Regions from separate parts of the Homo sapiens genome. Here regions 1, 2 and 4 are each linked to region 3. Evidence: promoter capture Hi-C in 16 types of primary human blood cells and fetal thymus (Javierre and others, 2016). All regions are on one chromosome and are shown on one strand. Each heading gives the region's core, a stretch centred on a gene start or on the middle of the fragment in contact. The rest is flanking DNA. Distances are from core to core; before and after follow the strand shown. Region 1 holds the start of SSRP1 (structure specific recognition protein 1). Region 2 overlaps P2RX3 (purinergic receptor P2X 3). Region 3 holds the start of SLC43A1 (solute carrier family 43 member 1). Region 4 overlaps PRG3 (proteoglycan 3, pro eosinophil major basic protein 2).

The links. Contacts are between HindIII fragments. The CHiCAGO score rates a contact against its expected background, and 5 or more counts as called.
Region 1: a contact is called between the fragment with the promoter of SSRP1 here and the fragment with the promoter of SLC43A1 in region 3, in 15 of 17 cell types (erythroblasts, M1 macrophages, megakaryocytes and 12 more). The highest score is 24.4, in erythroblasts.
Region 2: a fragment that was not itself captured here is called in contact with the fragment with the promoter of SLC43A1 in region 3 in 9 of 17 cell types (erythroblasts, M0 macrophages, activated CD4 T cells and 6 more); the score reaches 15.2 in erythroblasts.
Region 4: a fragment that was not itself captured here is called in contact with the fragment with the promoter of SLC43A1 in region 3 in 6 of 17 cell types (activated CD4 T cells, M2 macrophages, M1 macrophages and 3 more); the score reaches 7.2 in activated CD4 T cells.

The regions. Positions count from the first base shown.
Region 1 is chr11:57,334,400-57,337,313 of GRCh38, reverse strand. SSRP1 (structure specific recognition protein 1) reads left to right here and starts at 1,422. Exons shown (of 17, transcript NM_003146.3): 1 at 1,422-1,584; 2 at 2,074-2,246; 3 at 2,666-2,851. The coding sequence starts at 2,193. It also overlaps a transcript of P2RX3 not described here. RefSeq lists enhancers at 1,284-1,333, 2,184-2,253 and a silencer at 1,504-1,683. The HindIII fragment of the contact is 4,158 bases long and covers 1-1,484 here.
Region 2 is chr11:57,353,528-57,356,624 of GRCh38, reverse strand. All of the region lies in intron 8 of P2RX3 (purinergic receptor P2X 3), which reads right to left. Among named protein-coding and RNA genes, the nearest start is that of P2RX3, 17 kb to the right of the region's middle. The HindIII fragment of the contact is 5,121 bases long and covers 1-3,097 here.
Region 3 is chr11:57,513,672-57,516,951 of GRCh38, reverse strand. It overlaps SLC43A1 (solute carrier family 43 member 1), which reads left to right and starts at 1,250. Exons shown (of 15, transcript NM_003627.6): 1 at 1,250-1,508; 2 at 2,828-2,994. The coding sequence starts at 2,841. RefSeq lists an enhancer at 1,027-1,096. The HindIII fragment of the contact is 5,778 bases long and covers 1-3,280 here.
Region 4 is chr11:57,374,373-57,377,780 of GRCh38, reverse strand. It overlaps PRG3 (proteoglycan 3, pro eosinophil major basic protein 2), which reads left to right. Exons shown (of 6, transcript NM_006093.4): 5 at 1-56; 6 at 873-1,012. The coding sequence ends at 931. Among named protein-coding and RNA genes, the nearest start is that of PRG3, 5.1 kb to the left of the region's middle. The HindIII fragment of the contact is 5,955 bases long and covers 1-3,408 here.

The DNA of each region.
Region 1 (2,914 bases), core at 173-2,672, 180 kb after region 3:
TTCTTTCTTTTTTTTTTTTTTTTTGACAGAGTCTCGCTCTGTCACCCGGGCTGGAGTGCAGTGGCACAATCTCAGCTCACTGCAACCTCTGCCTCCTGGGTTCAAGCAATTCTCATGCCTCAGCCTCCTGAGTAGCTGGGATTATAGGCACCCGCCACCACGCCTGGCTAATTTTTGTATTTTTAATAGAGACGGGGCTTCACCACGTTGGCCAGTCTGGTCTCAAACTCCTGACCTCAAGTGATCTCCCTGCCTTGGCCTCCCCAAGTGCTAGGATTACAGGTGTGAGCCACCGTGCCTGGCCGGGGATGTTTTCACCTTGTTCAAGTTTCCTCAAATCTGAGAAGTGTGCTAAAGTAGTAATAGGCCCTCAATATCTATTTATTAAACCCAGTTGAATTTATTTTGCTAGATAATGCTGGAATAGCCACTACTCAGAGGTTAAAGCTATGAGTTCAGGGGAGAAGGGTGCATTCCTGTTGTCTCTTACCCCAGGATTGATTTAGCAAGCTGGTGTATTGATTGTCAGGGAAATCTTGAGCTTACATATTCTGTACTAATGTCTTCATGTAGGACACATATCAATAGTCATTCTGAACATACAGTCACTGTGATTATGACAGAAGATAACTGGACTGGTGGTGTTAAGGAGGTCTGGGTCCTACCTAGCCTTGTTGCCAACGCACTGAGACCCTGGGCAACTCACTCCCCTTTGGGTCTCAGTTTTCCCATCAGTAAAAGGAGGTTGGGGTAGAAAAACTAAAACATCTTTTCCAGGTCTGGTCTCTGATGTTGCAAAATGCACTCTGGGATTATACGGGGGAGACCTGGCTTCCGCAACCACAGGATGATGTGGTTTCAAATCAGTTCTGGCTCCAAGGTGAATCTGACACCAGGACTTGAACTGGATAAGGCCGTTTGCCAGCCTCTTGGAGGTACCTATAATTTTCGGTTAAGGATGTGAAAATTTTGGGTGTAGACAGTGAACTTGACAGTTCAGCCAGAAAGCAGTGCACCCACGATGACACCAACACCCGCATACTCTCCGCAGCCAGTGGGAGAGGTCGTTTCCTCCCACAACTGTTCAAATACTTCTCTTCTTGTCCCATCGACTCCTTTCCATGACATAGAAACTATTTTGCAGAGAAACGGGCACGCATCATTCCAATACACACCCCCACCCCACCCCTGTACTAAGTCTGATACAATAAAACTACACAATTTCTCTTTAGTATCTAGTCTCGACTGAAGAAGTGTCTGTAGTTTCTAAAGAGCCCTACACACATTTTCTAGGCCGGATTCCCCCTGGGTGAGAGAGGCTTCACGGCAACCACCCTTCCCTCAGGTCCTCCAGAGTCGCTGACGCTCTATGCGACTGTCTCGCAGGCGGGCCCGACTCGCGTCTCTCTAGCCAGCTCATCCTCTCTGTGGCCTGTGTACGGCTTCCGGTGGCGGGACGCGGGGCCGCGCACGCGGGAAAAGCTTCCCCGGTGTCCCCCCATCCCCCTCCCCGCGCCCCCCCCGCGTCCCCCCAGCGCGCCCACCTCTCGCGCCGGGGCCCTCGCGAGGCCGCAGCCTGAGGAGGTAGGTGGTGGTCGTCCCCGGTCCCAGGAAGGCAGGGGCCCCGCTCCCCCACGGGACCCTCGACATGGACCATTCCGCGTTCGCAACCGCGGGGAGCGGGCGAATCCATTATGTGGGGCGGGGGTGAACCGTGGGTCTGGGGCCGCGGGGTGGTGGGAGCGGTGCGAGGGAAACCCTGCACTCTGAGCTGGATTGGGTCGCGTGCGATGTGCGGGCTCCTGGCAGACCCTGGGGTTCCGCTGCTCGTTGCCATGGCTCCCGCCGGAGCGGCCAGAGCGGGCGTCGGGTTGGGTGTCAGCGGTATTCCGGGCCCGGTTCTCCACCCAGGCCTGGACCTGGACCCTCGGGCACTGCAGCGTCCGTCTGTAGGTTTCCAGGCAGAGGAAATCCTGAGACATCCAGGCGCAGCTGGGAGTTGCTACCTGGCTCCATCCGTGAGCACAGCGAGGTGCTGTCTTTCATGCTTATCTGTCTTCCTCTTGAATTCAGATTCCCAACCTGCTGAGCATCCGCACACCCACTCAGGAGTTGGGGCCCAGCTCCCAGTTTACTTGGTTTCCCTTGTGCAGCCTGGGGCTCTGCCCAGGCCACCACAGGCAGGGGTCGACATGGCAGAGACACTGGAGTTCAACGACGTCTATCAGGAGGTGAAAGGTTCCATGGTGAGAATGGCTTGGACAGGTGATACAAGTAGAGAGAAGGAAGGAGGGTAGAGTTTTTGTCCATTAATGAGAGCTTGCTTTGGTAACGTTATTTTGGAAAAAGAAGACTCAGTATAATGTGTACCTAGTGTCTCCACCAACTCAAGGCAATACTGAGAGATAGTCTCAGAGTTATAGGGACCGTATATGCTGTTCAGTTCCCAATTCCTGTTTTACAAATGAGGAAACTGAGAATCTGTTAAGGGTTCTAGATACCAGAGTCTGGTTTAGAATCTAGACTCCTTGGCACCCTCAGCTGTTGCTCCTGCATTGATAATCTGGCCAGTCCACTTGCAGCAGGAATGTGTGTTAGGTAGAGCTGTAGAACCCAGGACATGCTGTGTACTGTCTCCATGCATCTGGGCCTGCTTTTCTTACAGAATGATGGTCGACTGAGGTTGAGCCGTCAGGGCATCATCTTCAAGAATAGCAAGACAGGCAAAGTGGACAACATCCAGGCTGGGGAGTTAACAGAAGGTATCTGGCGCCGTGTTGCTCTGGGCCATGGACTTAAACTGCTTACAAAGAATGGCCATGTCTACAAGTATGATGGCTTCCGAGAATCGGTGAGATGTCCCATGGCTATAAGCCTCCTTTTTACTGCATCTTCTTATTTTAATCTTCTAGAG
Region 2 (3,097 bases), core at 53-2,552, 160 kb after region 3:
AGATCTTGCTGATCCACACGTTTCTGCCTGGAAGCAGGACAGGCGCCAAATCTCCGAGCTTCATGAAAGCTGCTGTGGGTACATTTCCAACATAAAACGATCACTAGAAACACCTACCGCACCAGGAACATCTAGCAGCTGAACAAATGTTTTTTTGTCCCAGACACCAAAAGAGGAAATCCAAAACTGCGTTGCCTTTTAGTAGCAAAGCTGTCTTAGGAACTCTCAGAGGAGAAACAAGAAATCAGGCATTTTGAAATGCAGTTTCGATTCTCTCCCGTCAATCACACCAGCCATCACTACCAGGTATATCTCTTAGAGCTATTTTTTTTTCCCCTTTTTTGCAGGCCATGTGATGGCGCAAGGCATGCTGGAAGCAATGGATATAGATCAAATCCCTGGGTTTGAGTCCTGATGTGCCTCTTAATTAGGCTGTATAATCTCAGGCAAGTTTTGAAATCTTTCTGAGCCTACCTTGGGGGTGGGGGAAGATGGTGAGCTGTGATCTGTCAAAAATAGGTGTGAAAGGGCTTTGCAAACTTAACTCTAGGGCTCTTAATCTGAGGTGCAGGGATAGGCTTTCATTTATTATTTATTTTTTAGAATTTTTAATCTTATTTTTGTAGAGAAGGAGTCTTGCTATTGCTGCCCAGGCTGGTCTCAAACTCCTGGCTTCAAGGGATCCTCCCGCCTCAGCCTCCCAAAGTGCTGGGATTACAGGCAGGAGCTTCCACACCTGGCTACGGGATAGGCTTTTAGAGGGCCTCAAAGTCTTGGAATTTTATGCTGCATAAATATAAATGCATAGAATAAGAACTGGAAAGAAACTCATTAAACCGTCCCAGATGTTAATTCCCTGCAAAGGGTGCAGGCCTGGGGGAATGAAGGGGACTTCCCATGTCATTACTTTGTATATATCAGTATTGGTTGGATTTATTACTCTGAGAATGTATTTGTATCTTATTTGTAGAAATGAAATAACCTGGCTAGGCGTGGTAGCTCACGCGTATAATCCCAGCACTTTGGGAGACCAAGGTGGGTGGATTACTTGAAGTTAGGAGTTCGAGACCAGCCTGGCCAACATGTTGAAATCCCGTCTCTACTAAAAATACAAAAATTAGCTGGGCGTGGTGGCGGGCACCTGTAATCCCAGCTACTGGGGAGGCTGAGGCAGGGGAATTGCATCAACCCGGGAGGTAGAGGTTGCAGTGAGCCGAGACTACTGCACTACTGCATTCCAGCCTGGGCAACAGAGCAAAACTCTGTCTCAAAAAAAAAAAAAAAAAAAAAGAAATAAAATATCCTTTAAGAAGAGAACTTGCCTGTGAATTTTCTCATGTCTATGAATACATGCATCTTCCTTGGACAATGGTCCCCATTTTCATCGGGGGCATAAAGCAGTTAGAGACCTCTGAAAGTTAAGGAAGGGCTGTAATTTCACAGATGAAAGTTGTCAGGACTTGTCCTGGACATCTCTGCAGGTGCCCCTCAGGTCCGTGCTCCTCCCTTCCTCGCCCTGCCCTGGGCTGCCTCAGTGGGCCACTTTGCCTCAGCTCTGGCTTCTGGTGGGGCTCTCCTGAGTCACAGCCACATGTCAGGCTGTCCTCTGCTCACAGCTCTGTCCGTCTCCATGTTCCTGTCACTGCTTCCTCTCCTCGCCTCTTCAGACCTGGGTGGTAACCAGTGTCCTGTTTCTGGCCCTGGCACTGCACTATCTGTGTGGTTTCCGTACACCCTGCCCACACCTTTGAAACAGTCCCTTTATTAAACTCTCCTCAGATTACCCAGTTAGAATGTGCCATCTGTTTCCTGCGGGGACCCTGACGGATACAGTATTTTTAATCTGTCATTGCACCATCAATGCCTATACACTCACGCACACACACACACACTGACACACTCACTCTCAGCCTCACACATTCACCCACTAACAAATACACCCACTCTCACGAACTCGCATGTGCACACACACTCACACACACACACAACATCACCTGTTCCCAGGACTTTGGGAAATATAGTACTCTTGTTAAAATCCTGCTCCTGTGAATTGAGGGTCTACCTGGGCCTCAGAAACCTTGCCAACAGAGAAGAGAGCCTCCTGAAGAACTGCAGGGCTCTGCTGAGGGCGCCTTTCACTTGTGCAGCACTGAACTGGTGACTCTCAACAGTTCTTATTTTTAGAAATTGCTGCATTTTGTCTGCTAGAAATCCAGATGACCCCACCAACTGCAATCTCAGTGTGCTTAGAAAGAGGCTTCATAAAAATACTAAGTTAAAGCGGCCCACGGAGTCTTTAGCCACGCAGAACAGACCAAGGAGTAAAAATAAAATGTCTCCACTAAATTTCAGGTAGGGGAAGAACAGAATCTTTAGGGGATCACAAAAATAAAGATTAACTTGCATGGACAGCACCAAGTACACTGGAGAGGATTTAAAGGGAGGCACATTTTGGCTCAATTTGAGGTCACCTTTCCAATGAATGGAGCAGGCCACTTTGCTTGCCACGGAGATCAGATATCCCCCAGTGTCAGGGTGATTACATGGGCCTGTAATCTCTTACATGGGTCCGTAAACTCCTTTAAATCACAAGGGTCACATTAGGAGTTGAGATCCAATGACCTTTGAGGCTACTCTAAGATGCCCCCTTTGGAACTTCCGCTTCCTCATCTGTAAAGTGACCGCCTTACTCTGGGTGACTGCAAGGGGAACTTCAACAGCTATAAATTCTCAAAATCTCTGATTCTGCAGGCAAAGAGCTACAAAAAATAGGGGCGGGGGGGGGGGAGTGACATTTGGAAGGGAGCTGCGAATGTAATTAGTGATGGAAATGTGAATCTCTAGCTGCCTCTGGATGTCTTAGTTAGCAGATTCAAACACGGCCGAATCTTGGCTGAATAATTCCATTCCCTCCAGAGCAAATGGCAACAGTAGGGGTGTTGAAAAATCTGCCTCTGTTGGAGGGAGCAGCAAATGAATTGTTTGGGAGACAAAAGGCCGGGCTATGAATTGTGCTGCCAGCATCTGCTAGTCTTGAAATCTCCTTGGAACTTAGATTCTTTGTTTTTAAGCTGGGATGAAAGTGTCAACCACATAG
Region 3 (3,280 bases), core at 1-2,500:
CCCTTTTATCTGAGGCCTTCTTGGAGCTTTCTGTAGTCATTCTTGTTTTGTTTTTGAGACAGAGTCTTACTCTGTCACCCAGGCTGGAGTGTAGTGGCATGATCTTGGCTCACTGCAGCCTCCATCTCTCCAGCTCAGTGATCCTCCCACTTCAGCCTGCTGGGTAGCTGAGACTGCAGGTGCACACCACCATGCCTGGCTATTTTTTTTTCTTTTTTGTAGAGACGGGGTTTCACCATGTTGTCCAGGTTGGTCTCGAACTCCTGAGCTCAAGCGATCCTCCTGCCTTGGCCTCCCAAAGTTCTGGGATTACAGGCATGAACCACCACACCTGGCCACCAGTATCACTCTTTTTTTAAAAAAATTTTATTTTTATTTTAAGTTCTGGGGTACATGTGCAGAATGTGCAGGTTTGTTACGTAGGTAAATGTATGCCGTGGTGGTTTATTGCACCTATCAACCCATCACCTAGGTATTAAGCTCAGCATGCATTAGCAGCACTCTTAACACACAATTAAACTCACATGTAATGAGATTACTTCTCATTACTCCACACCATAGTAGTCTATTTTACAGATGAGGATACTGAGGCTCAGGGAGGCTGAGAGATTTACCTGGAGTCAATCAATTGTTGATCTGGAAGCATCCGATCACCAGGTCTTCTGAAATAATGACAGCAGCAACAATTAACATTATGCTTACTATGCCAAATGCTATGCTTAGCATTTTACCTGCATCACAATCGCGATTCCTTTGGGCAGTTAGGTAGGTTCCATTTTAACCGAATTTAAAGAGGAGGAAGCTGAGGCTCAGAGAGGTAACTTGCCCTAGGTAACCCAGGGTAGTCAGTTAAAAAGTCAAGACTCAGACCTCGATCTGACTAACTCCAAAGAAACCCGTGCCACTCTGCCTCTCGGAAAACACTGCTTCCAGCTGCACAGTTCAAAACCCCACCCAAGGCGGCCCTGAATCGCGGTCAGTCGGCTTCAGCCGAATCGCACTTTGTTTTGAACAAGGATACAGAGGGCGCTGCCTGATGTTAGTCTGGGGGCTTGGGGGAGAAGATGGGGGTCCAGGGTGGAAATGTAGGTGCTGGGGCTGTGCCAGAGGGAGAGTGTCCGGGACCAGCGGGCGAGTCACGTGCGCGTGAAACTCGACCTAAGGGGAGGGGAAAAGAAGGGAGCCCCCGCCCCCACCTCGGGGCGCAGCTCCGGACGCGTGTAAATACAACTATCAACTCCGCAGATCCACTTCATCCAAGCCCAGCTTCGCAGACCTCTGGCGCCCGGCGGGTTCCCAGTTCCCCCGCTTCTTCCGAGGAGACAGCGGAGGCGAGGCCACCGGGCTGTCAGGCTGAAGCTCCGTGGCCGCCGGGTCCTGCACGCAGAGAAGACCCCAGCGCCGGCGCGGCTCAGGGCTGGGCCCACGGGACTCCGGACGCGCCGCGAAAGCGTTGCGCTCCCGGAGGCGTCCGCAGCTGCTGGCTGCTCATTTGCCGGTGACCGGAGGTGAGCAGCGTGGGCGGGGAGGGGGCGCGCGTAGGGTCTCCGGCTATGCGTCGGCTGAGAGACACCGAGGCCGGCTCCCGCCGACACTGCCAGGCTTCCCAAGGAAAGACCGTTACTTGCGCCCGCGGTCCCGCGGCACAGTGTCCCATCTCGCCAAGCGCGTCCTTCCCTTTTCTTTTCTCTGACCCCTCCGACTCTTCTCTTCCTCCCGGGTCCCCGCTCGCTGCACTTCCTCTGCTTAGAGCTGCGCGTTTGCCAGAGTTCCAGCGGACCTCCTGGAGCGCTTGAACCCAAAGCCCCGTTTCACAGATGAGAATACCGAGTCCCCCTGGAAGAAGTGACTGGTACTTCCTCCCCTCTCTCTGGGTCTTTCTTGCCCTTCTCCTCTCCGCTTTCCTCGGTCTCATCCCAGTTGTCGCTCCCCGCCCCCGCGCCGCCCGCGTTCCCTCTCCTCCCGCCGAGGCTGCAGCGGCCGCGGCGGGGGGAGCTGGGGCTCTTTCCCTCCCTTTGGTAAACACACCCGCCCGCCAGCCCATCCGCCACCGCTGCCCTTATAAAGTCAGCAGCCGCCAGACTTCCTGCCGAAGTCCGAGCCCCCTCCCGGGGCTGGAGGGGGGCAAGCGGGTTCCGAGGTGCAAAGCCTGGTGCCCCGAGCCCTGCGGAGTGAGTGAGGGGCGCGCGGGGGAGGAGGGAACCGAGGAGAGCCCGTCCTGGGTCTCCCTCCACGTGGCAGCTGTTGGCTTGGCCCGAGAGACTGTAGGGTCGTGGGTCACCTGATACGGAAAGGGGGAGGGCTTGCTGTCGCCCGGCCCCAGAGGGAAGGAGAGGTCTTGGAGGGGCAACTGGAAGATGGGGTCGTAGGGTAGCCTTGAACTTGCCCTTCTTCCTGCCAGCTTCTAGGGGTCTTTCCTGGCGCGAGAGTCCGGACATGGGCCCGCGGTGCTTCAGAGCGCGCTCTGCCCCTTGCTGTCCTCTGGGGACCTGGGCAGATGCGGACTTTCTCCCCAGCAGCCCGGCCCTGAGCGCCCTGGCCTGGGTGAGAGAACCCGGCAGCCTGCTAGGAAGCTGCAGCGCGCAGACAGGACCTTCCTTGTTTCCGATAGTGGCTCAGCGGGAGCCCCGTGCCGCGTGCACCTCTGGCACTGCTAGTGCGCGCGGAGCCAGCTCCTTGGCACCGGCTGGGAAGCCCAGGGCTCTATGGGGCCTCCATGAGGGGCTCCTCGCGGGCTGGCCCGAGAGGTCTCGGGTGCCACCATGATGCAGGACCCTTCCCTGGGGCCACTGGGGGGCCCTTCACCCAGCGCTCTGTTTCTGTGCAGGCTCGGGGCCAGCATGGCCCCCACGCTGCAACAGGCGTACCGGAGGCGCTGGTGGATGGCCTGCACGGCTGTGCTGGAGAACCTCTTCTTCTCTGCTGTACTCCTGGGCTGGGGCTCCCTGTTGATCATTCTGAAGAACGAGGGCTTCTATTCCAGCACGTGCCCAGGTATGCCTGAAAATGGGCTGGGTGGGCTGGGGGGAGGGATGGCAAAGGGGCAGGTGGAAGCCAGAAAAGGTTAGGTGGCCAGGTGGACAGAAAGCAGGGTCAGCAGTTGGACAGCCTCACTTCTCGACCTCTTCAAACTTCAGGGGGAGATTGGGTGGCACTCTGCCCACTGTTTCATTTATCTAATCCAGTGGTCACTGAATGCCAGGTGTCCTGCTGGTCATCCAGACCCTGGGACTAATAGGCAGAGTCCTAAGCCTCTGACAGCCTCAGGTCTAGAGCTCTT
Region 4 (3,408 bases), core at 376-2,875, 140 kb after region 3:
GTCCCCAGGGCAACCTGGGAATGGGCAAGGCTCCTGTGTGGCCCTATGCACCAAAGGTGAGGGGGAAGGGCACCAGGGCAGGGAGAAGGGATAGTAAAGTGGATTCTTAATACTACCCCTTTGAGCTGCCTGAACACACCTCCCCAAACTCAGACCCTCCCGCTGACTGAAGAACAAAAGTCCTGTGTGTAAGGAGGGCTGAGACATAGGGAATCCTCAAAGCAAAACCAGGTGATAGGAGTTCTGGAGACAGGGGGGTGGGCTGGATGGTGTGTGTGTGGGAAAATTCTTTGCCTCCTTTGATATGAGGGCAATAAATTCGAACAACAGGTATGACCAATGAGAGTAGCGGAAGTGGATATAAGGCGTGGATGAGAGAAAAGGAAGGATGGGGGAATTAGGGATGGCTGAGAGACAAGATGCCCACCTCCAACAGCAGACATGGGCAGCAGCATGGGTGCCAGATGTGAGTTTAGTATAGTGGCTGAGACCATATGTGCTAGAGCAAGACTGCTGCAGTTCACATCCCAGTGCTGCCACTTGCCAACTGAGATACAGGCACGTTGTTTATCTCTACTAAGCCCCCGTTTCCTCATCTGTGAAATGGGGATGATGACAGCACCCACCTCTTGGAGTCATGGTAAGGATTAAATGCAATAGTCCACCTAAGTCCATCTAATGCAGTTAGCACACAGCCTAGCTAGCAGTAAGAGCTCAGCAAATGTGAGCCAGTAGGGATGTGGGGCAAGCACACAGCTGGCAGATGACGATGGCCATAGATGGGGACATAGGGGGCCCCTGAGGAGGGAAAGAGGTGAAGCCCAGGCCAGACCCCGCAGGGCGGTGGACTTCACTGTGCTCTGTGCTGCTAGGAGGTTATTGGCGACGAGCTCAATGCGACAAGCAACTGCCCTTCGTCTGCTCCTTCTAAGCCAGCGGCACGGAGACCCTGCCAGCAGCTCCCTCCCGTCCCCCAACCTCTCCTGCTCATAAATCCAGACTTCCCACAGCATTTCCTGACTCTCGTTTCTTTATTGCTCACTTTGGGGATTACTCCAGTTCGGAAAAATCCTGGAAGCATTCACTCTCGGGAAAGTGAGCCATGGCCGAGTAGGGCGGCCCGGTGGGGGCTGGCGGCGGCGCTGGGCGGCAGAGCGGGACCTGGGGCGGCCGGAAGGCCTCCCCGGGCGTGGGGTAGGGTTGGGAGGATGGGGACAGGGGTGTGGGTGGTGGGAGTAGAGGTGGTGGAGATGGTTTGGGAGTAGGGGTGGGAGTGGGAGGTGGGGGGATGGGAGTAGGGGTGGGGGGATGGGTTTAGGGATGGTGTGGTGCAGGTGAGGGGTTGGAAGTAGGGGTAGGGGTGGGAGGTGGGGGGATGGGAGTAGGGGTGGGAGTGGGGACGTGAGGGGTTAGGAGTAGGGGTGGGGGTGGGAGATGGGGGGATGGAAGTAGGGATGGGTGTGGTGCAGGTGAGGGGTTGGGATTAGGGTTAGGGGTGGGAGATGGGGGATGGGAGTAGGGATGGGTGTGATAGAGGTGAGGGGTTGGGAGTATGGGTAAGGATTGGGGAGTGGGGGGTGGGAGTAGAAGTGGTGGAGATGGTGGTGGGGATGGGAGTAGGGTTGGGTGTGATGGAGGGAGGGGTTGGGAGTATGGGTAAGGACTGGGGGAGTGGGGGATGGGAGCTCAGTTGGTGTGGGGTGCTTTGCTGGTCCTCTTGCTTTGTTTGGATTCAGTATGCGGTGCAGGGTGGGGTGGCTTTCCAAAATAAAGGTGATGGAGCTGTTTTAAGAGTTGGTGTGGAACACTGAGGTCCCACCTAGGGGACAACACGAGGAAGTGGGGAGAAAGCAGTCTTGTCTTGGGGCAGACTGCTCCTCTGGCCCTATGCCTTTCTGGCTTCTGGTAATGGCCCCCAATTTTATTTCCAGCCACCTCTGTGAGTCCCCAGCCTCCTCTGAGGCATGTTCCCCATCCATTCCCAGGAGGGTGGTGGTCCTCCCCTTCCTTCCTCCTGGCCTACCTCTGTAGAGGGGCCACATCCTTAGGAGGGAGCGACTTCTCCCCAGCAGGGCCCTGGGCACAAAGCCAGGGTGTCTGGTAGTTCCCATTCCCAGTTCTGCAGCCCCAGGCCTCTGTGTCTCTCCGTCCCCCACTTTCTCAGACCCTGGGGACATTGAGAGACATTATTGTTGTTGCTATTAACTTTGTCACAGATGAGGTACTGGGCTCCAGGAAGGATGTAGAGTTGATGAAGTAGGAAACTCAGAACTGAGACTGGGTATCAAGACGGTAGAGAGCCCTGGATTGTAGGGGGTGGAGGCAGTGGGGAGAGACAGACTTCTTGGGAGTGTGTTTCCACATGGGGCCCAGGGAGAATACAAAAGTATTTCTGTGTGTGCACATGTACATGTGTGCGTATATATCTTGGTGTGTACATGTGTCAGTGTTTGTGTACATGTGTATACCTGTATATGTGTGAATTTGTATATGTAAATGTGCATAAATCTGTGAGTCAGTATGAATTTGCATGTTGAGTATGCATATGTTTATATATCTCTGTGTATTTATGGATATGTCTGTCTGCGTACACCTGTGAATGCATATGTCTCCATAGCTTTGCAGCCTTATGTTCCCAAATCTCTCTGTGTATGCATATGTGTCTTCCTCTGTGTCTTTGACTGGTATGTATGTGGGTGGGTATATGTCTCAGTGTGTGTCTGAGCATAACTGCATACAGGACTATGTTTGTGTGTTTGTGTATATCTGTACCAGCATCTGATGGGATGTGGTTTCAGGAGCGAAAAGAACTTTTCCCAGATGTGCTGTGTTTCTAAGGGTGCTAAAGTTGAGGGGACAGGATCAGAGAGCCCTGGGGAAAGTGGGTGATGGAGAAAGCAGAGAGATGAGGCCCTTCAACATGGGCAGGCCTCTGGCAGCAGGAGAATGGGTGCTGTCATTGCCAGGGACTTTACCCATGCTGGGCCCCAGGGACTGTCTCTACATGAAAAGGCCTGTCCTCAGTAGAGGGGTCTGTCCAACTGCCATGGATGGAAATTGGGTCAGGCAGCTCCTAATCACAGCATGTCAAGTGGTCCTTCTCCCAAAGGGCATGGAAGGGGAGCTACCTGGGATTAGGGCCCCACACAGATCCACACACTACACACTACAATAGTCCCTTCTTTTTTTTTTTTTTTAACTTTTATTTTAGGTTCATGGGTACATGTGCAGGTTTGTTACACAGGTAAACTCATGTCACGGCGGTTTATTTGTTGTTCAGATTATTTCATCACCCAGGTACTAAGCCTACTACCCAATTTTTTTTTTTTTTTTTTTTTTTTTTTTTTTTTTTTTGAGACAGAGTCTCACTCTGTCGCCCAGGCTGGAGTGCAGTCGCACAATCTCGGC